Linked DNA regions of Homo sapiens: region 1 is linked to region 2. Evidence: promoter capture Hi-C in human tissues and cell types (Jung and others, 2019). All regions are on one chromosome and are shown on one strand. Each heading gives the region's core, a stretch centred on a gene start or on the middle of the fragment in contact. The rest is flanking DNA. Distances are from core to core; before and after follow the strand shown. Region 1 has its middle 39 kb from the start of PKIB. Region 2 holds the start of SMPDL3A (sphingomyelin phosphodiesterase acid like 3A).

Evidence for each region. Contacts are between HindIII fragments. The study calls those that stand out against the background at their distance.
Region 1: a fragment that was not itself captured here is called in contact with the fragment with the promoter of SMPDL3A in region 2 in 3 of the 25 tissues and cell types used here (heart right ventricle, stomach and thymus).

The regions. Positions count from the first base shown.
Region 1 is chr6:122,569,817-122,573,168 of GRCh38, forward strand. It overlaps a transcript of PKIB not described here. Among named protein-coding and RNA genes, the nearest start is that of PKIB, 39 kb to the right of the region's middle. The HindIII fragment of the contact is 3,594 bases long and covers 1-3,352 here.
Region 2 is chr6:122,787,497-122,790,964 of GRCh38, forward strand. SMPDL3A (sphingomyelin phosphodiesterase acid like 3A) reads left to right here and starts at 1,762. Exons shown (of 8, transcript NM_006714.5): 1 at 1,762-1,962. The coding sequence starts at 1,851. RefSeq lists enhancers at 1,572-2,073, 2,074-2,573 and silencers at 1,788-2,082, 3,188-3,468. The HindIII fragment of the contact is 4,348 bases long and covers 1-3,468 here.

The sequences.
Region 1 (3,352 bases), core at 419-2,918, 220 kb before region 2:
AGAATCTGAACAGCAGTTCTTGAGTCCCAGATCTTTCCACTAATGGGAAGTTTCTTACAGCAGAGACACAATTACAGTGCTGCTCTGAACCTCTATCCCAACAGGGAGGCAACCTCTCTGATCATTAAGGGTCTTGGAGACGGTGTCCTTATTCCCATGAGTACACCACTGAAGACACAGCTGGGGCTTCTCCCACAGGAATGCAACATGGATGCACCTACAGACAGCTTTCCTAGAACAAGTCAGGGTGATTGCATCCCCACAGGAAGAGCACTTTCCAGGTCAGGCTTTCATGAGAGGCAGAGTCACAACTCCTCTTTACTTAGAATATCAACATTCTTACAGATGAAAAGAGGAGCCTGTCTAACCTGAATAGCCAGAACACTGGGATAGAAATGAAGCTGGGAAGTAGATGCCTTCCCTGCTGGCCTGGCAGGGTAGCTGAGGTGCTCCCACCTTTCAACCTGATAAAACCTCTGTACATCTAATTGAGGGCTTCCCAGCCACCTTCAACAAGGCTGGGACGTCTGCCCACCATTGGGTATTACATCTACCCACCTGCTTTAGCTACAACCAGTGCCTACCCAGGGATAACTCCCCTACTAACCTGAAGCCTGGATCATCAAATCAGTAAATAAAACACTGGAGAAAAATTAAGTAAATAAAAAAGCATACACCATGGGAGAATGAGATAAGCTTCAAAAATCCTTGCCATTCCAACCCCATATGAGACAGTGAACTTGCCCACACACCATGAACATAACTACTACAACAAGCATCTGGAAAAGCCAGTGCACAAAGACCCTCTATAACTAAGGAAGTCATACAGAGTCTTTCCTGCTAAAAGCACCAAGAATTAAATTAGCCTGCAATAAACTATAAACGTTAAAGTCAGATTCCTAAGAGGGAAAAAAAGAAATTAAATAAAAACCACAGTCAAATAAAAATAAATTCAAGAAAATTTTGAAGAAAAGTCTATCCAAATGAAAAGGAACCAGAAAAGTAATTCTGGTAATATGACAAAAGAGAGTTCTGTAACACCCCCAAAAGATCAAACTAACTCCCCAAAAATTGCTTCAAACCAAGATGAAATCTTTGAAATACCAGACAAGTCAGAAGGTTGATTATTAAGCTACTCTAGGAAATAACCAGAGAAAGGTGAAAACCAACATAAAAAATGTTTTAAAATTCAGGATATGAATGAAAAAATTTTCAGAGAGATGGATATCATAAAAAAAAACAATCAGAACTTCTGGAAATAAAAGACATACTTAGAGAAATACAAAATTTAGTGAAAATTTCAATATTAGACAAGAACACGTAGAATAAATAATTTCAGAGCTTGAAGACAAGGCTTTTGAATTAACCCAATCAGACAAAGATAAAGAAAAAAGAAGCAAAAGAAATGAACCAAGTTTCCAAGAAATATGGGATTATGTAAAATGGCCAAACCTAAGAATAATTGATGTTCCTGAGGGGGAAGAGAAGTCTAAGAGTTTGGAGAACTTATTTTAAGGAATAATTGAGGAAAACTTCCCTTGCCTTGCTAGATATACAGATATCAAAATACAAGAAGCTTAGATTCCTGGGAAATTCCATTGCAAAAAGATTATCACCAAAGCACGTAGTCATTAAGCTATCTAAAGCCAACATGAAGAAAAGGATTTTGGTAGCTGTGAGACAAAAGCATCAGGTAACCTATAAAAGAAAAACTATCAGACTAACAGCAGATTTCTCAGCAGAAACCTTACAAGCCAGAAGGGATTGGGGTCCTATCTTTACCCTCCTTAAATTGTCAGCCAAGAATTTTGCATTCTGCAAAACTAAGCTTCATAAATGGAGAGATAAAGTATTTTTCAACAAATGCTGAGGAAATTTTCCACTACCAAACCAGCACTACAATAAATGCTAAATGGAGTTCCATATCTTGAAACAAAACCTTGATCTATATCAAAATGGAACCTCCTTAAAGCATAAATCTCACAGGGCCTATAAAACATTAACATAATGAAGAAAAACAAAGTATCTAGGTAAAAACTAATATGATGAATAGAACAGTACTTCACATCTTAATATTCAGGTTGAATGTAAATAGCCTAAATGCTTCACTTGAAAAGGTACAGAATAGCAGAATGGATTAAAAAACCGCTAACCAAATGTCTACTGTCTTCAAGAGGCCCATCTAACACAAAAGGACTCACATAAACTCATGGTTAAGGGGTGGAAGAAGGTATTCCACGCAAATGGAAACTGACACATAAACTCATGGTAAAGGGGTGGAAGAAGGTATTCCACTCAAATGGAAACTGAAAGCAAGCAGGAGTCACTATTCTTACATTAGACAAACCAGACTTTGAAACAATACAATAAAAAAAGACAAAGAAGGACATTATATAATAACAAAATGATTAGTTCAACAAGAAGATATTACAATCCTAAATTTATATGCACCTAACACAGGAGCTCCAAGATTTATAAAACAATTACTGCTAGATCTAAAAGCAACTCACCCTCCAAACTATACAAATACATGGAAATTAAATAATCTGCATTTGAATAATTTTGGGGTTAATAATGAAATTAAGATGGAAATTGAAAATTATTGGAAATGAATGATAAAGTGACACAACTTATCAAAACCTCCGGGATACAGCAAAAGTAGTACCAAAAGGAAAGCTAATAGTATTAAATGCCTACATCAAAAAGTCTGAAACAGCAAAAATAGACAACCTAATGTCACACCTCAAGGAAATAGAGAAACAATAACAAAGCAAATCCAAATGTAGCAGAAGGAAAAAAAAAACAAAGATCAGAGCAGAACTAAATGAAATTGAAACAAAAAAAAAAACGATAAATGAAACAAAAAGCTGGTTCTTTGAAAAGATAAACAAAATTGATAAACTATTAGTGAGATTAACCAAGAAAAGAAGAGAGAACATTCAAATAAGCTGAATTAGAAATGAAACTGGCAATATTACAACAGATACTACAGAAATAAAAAAATAACATTCAAGGCTAGTATGAACACCTTTATACACACAAACTAGAAAATCTAGAGGAAATGGATAACTTCCTGGAAACATGTAATTCTCCTAGATCAAATCAGGAAGAACTAGAAACCCTGAACAGACCAGTAACAAGCAGCAAGATTAAATCAGTAATGAAAAAATTGCCAACACAGAAAATTTCAGGACCAGATGGATTCATAGCTGAATTCAAAGAATATTCAAAGAAGAGTTGGCATCAATTCTACTGAAACTATTCGAAAAGATAAAGAGGGAATCCTCCCTAAGTTATTCTGAAGCCAGTATAACACTAATACCAAAACCAGGAAAGGACACAAGAGAAAAAG
Region 2 (3,468 bases), core at 512-3,011:
AAGCCTCCACGTAGCAGGCTTTAGAGAAAACAGATCTTAAATGTTTCTTATCAGACTTATGGTCTATGTTGATGTTAATTACGCATGTCCAACCCCCCCATCCCCTTTTTCATGGCCTGAACCAGTCTTTCAGGTTAAATTTTAGAGTGCCCTGACTGGGGAAAGAGTCCATACAGATGGTCGTCCATTCAGATGGTTGTGGGGGGCCTTCAAATTTTATTTTTGGTTTACAAAACAGAAAATGGAAGCACCTTGCTTCCCACTTCAAAGCCCGTTTCATGACACACACTCCCATTAAATTACATGGGATACAAAACAAAGCTTTCTATGCTGGGAAAGAAATACACTCTACAACATCTTTTTTGAGGTTAGTAATTATGGAAAGCATTTTCTTCTGCAAAGGAATTCCACGCCCTATAAATTTAAATTATTAGCTTGTCATCTCCAAGAGATCAGCATCCTCATAAACGGTGAGAGAAGGAACACAGAATACAGGATCCAGCACAGTTTCGGGATTCTGGCTTCTTTGCCAGACTTATCTTTGCTTACTTCTTTGTATAGACTTACTTCTTTGCCAGACTTATCTTTGCTTACTTCTTTGTATAGACTTACTTCTTTGCCAGAAGTATATTCAAAAAAGTTCCGTGGAAGCATCAAATCAACCACCTCTACTTATGATTTCCATGCATCTCTGGAATGCATAAAGCATGATTTCAGAACATGTTCTAATTCTAAGACCCTTCTCTTCCCGGCAGTTTAAAAAAAACAAAAAACAAAACGTCGTATCTTTGAGCATTGGTTTTCAAACATCACAATCACTTTAACATGACCTGAAATGCTTGTGAAAACACAAACTGCTGGGCTCCAGCAGGTTTCTGACTCAACAGGTCTAGGGTGGTGCCTGGGAATTTGCATTTCTAACTAGAGTTCCCAGGTGGTGCTAATGTTCCCAGTTCAGAGACTTCAATTCGAGATCCACTGCAGTATCCATAACTTTTGCTGATTTCCTTCAAATCATGATACTTCAGGGCTCTCTGCATCACCTCTACTGAGGAGCCCTACCCATTAAAGCTGGGGTAGGTTGGCCCAAGAATGGAACCGGGATCGTTGAGATTTCAGCACCCCAGCATTTTTTAGTGACTGAAATAATGAAAATTCTGATCAGGCTCCTGCTTGCTTGCACATTTTAACCACTCGCTTTTTGCCCAATATTCTCCTTGTTTCCACAATATAATTATAAACTGCTGAGGTACTGCTTCCTCGTCAAGAACAAAGAGGTTAACTTCAGGGTCACAAAAATGTTTGCAGAAGGGATGAATACCTCCAAGGGCTTTGCAACCAGCTGCGGATGCCTGGACGTCTAATTGCTCAAAGGTGTTATCTGAGACTGAAGAAACAGACTTTTCCCCTGGATTCTTTGAAAATCCCCCTCTCTTATTCTCTAGCAGAATAAAAACTCCCTGCTTTTTCCTTTTTACACACGGATTTGAGAGATCTTGTTCTCCCTCCTTCTGGCTTTTACTAAATTGAATGTCTTTCTCTATCCCCAAGCACCAGTATGTCAGTGTTTGACATCAACTGCACCACTGATACACGAGTCGGAATTTGAGCTTCTACAAGTACATTCCTTCCTAGGCCAAACACTGACGCTAAGAAATACGAGAACAGATCATCGCTAAACAGCAGCTGAAGGTCAGGCGAACTGACTCGCTGCGGAATCTGCCTTTGCACGTGATCAGTCGGACGTCTACACCCGCAGCCGTCTTCTGTCTCCGCCTCACCCTCAGGCCTGACGGTCCGAGTGGAGCTGCGGGACAGCCCGAACCTCCAGGTCAGCCCCGCGGCCCTCCATGGCGCTGGTGCGCGCACTCGTCTGCTGCCTGCTGACTGCCTGGCACTGCCGCTCCGGCCTCGGGCTGCCCGTGGCGCCCGCAGGCGGCAGGAATCCTCCTCCGGCGATAGGTGAGTTGTCCGCGACCCTTCTCTTCCCAGCCGGCAAAGAGCGCGGAGCGGCGGCGCCTGCGCACAGCAGGAGAAAGTGCGTGGGGGCAGCTGCCCCCGGCAGAGGCTCGGGCTAGCGGGGCCCCTGACGCGTCCGGCGTTGACCACGGCTGGTGGGCGCGGGGAGGGCGACCAAGGGACTACAGCGTTAGGGCGTCCAGCCGGGAGGCCGGGGCTGGGCGGGGGAAATGCCCTCGCCGGTGGGGGCGCTCCAAGGGCGCGTCGGCCGGATTTCGCCAGCCTGGCTTTTGTTTACATCCTGCATCTCAGTTGTTTTGTTCCTTGGGGAAGGAAGGAAAAGCTGCGGGACTCAAGGGAAGAGGAAGCTGGGAGTCCGATGTCCAGCACAGCAAGAGGCCCCTAATCGGTCCTGAATGGAGGGGGACTGCAGTTTCCCCACCAGCTCAGGGAAGTAAATTTCAGCGTGACTCACACTATCTTCTGTCTTGCTCGACCGAGATCAGTGGCTTTTTCTGCCACTCACCCAGCCAGAGCGCGAAAGCACCCTCGGGTAGACTCACCCCTTAGTCTACCGTGGAACTCACGGGGACTTCATTTCACCTGGATGTCCACTAGGTTTCCTGCGGGCGGGACCCATTTTATTCACTCCCAGCACTTAACACAGTGCCCGTTACAGTAGTGATTCTCTTAAGTGTGCCCTGGACCGGTGGCAGCAGCCGCCGCACTTAAAATTGTTAGCATTGCAAATTTCCAGCCCATCCCAGACCTACTGAATCTGAAACGCCGGCGTTGGGCTTCCACAGTATGCTGTTTAACCCACCCTCCGCATGATTCCTTTCGGCTAAGTTTGAGACTCACTGGTCCAGAATAGATACATTTTGGTGGGAGATTGTACAATGCCATCCGAGCCTCCAGTTCCAAAAATCAAGGTGCCCTCACCTCCTCAACTCCCTTTAAAAATAATTGCACTGTTAAGAGGAAAAACAAAATTAGAGAAGTGGGGTTCTGTTTTCTTTTAGGGGAGAGTTGTCCCTGAGACTCGGTAGCAGCACCTAGTGCTGAAACCTCTTTCGCTCCCTCTGTGCTTTCTCAGGACTTGGGAGCGCTCTAGGGCAAATATCTTCTCTTTGAAGGCCAAGTCCTCACGACTCAGCTGTCAGGTCTGAAGCAAAAACTGTAAATCTGGTTTCCGAACTGTGGCAAATGTCAGTCATTACAAGAAATTTCCCCAAAATGTTTATGTATACTGGTTTCTGCTTTTATTACGGCTTAGCTTGTGTTCCTTTAATTATGTGACCGGTTAGGGTTTTGAAATAAAATGTCTCACGTTGCTTGAGGCCACACAATGGCAAATTCACCTGTGTTTTAAAGAGGCCTGAATGAGCGCTTTCTGGGGACTCTGTGAGTCTTCACACCTCCTGTTTGGGAAACTGCAAGGTTGAATCCCCTCCTACTAAAGGGGAAGGAAGAGGGGTTACTGGAGTTCAGTGGTCTGAAGTGTTACTG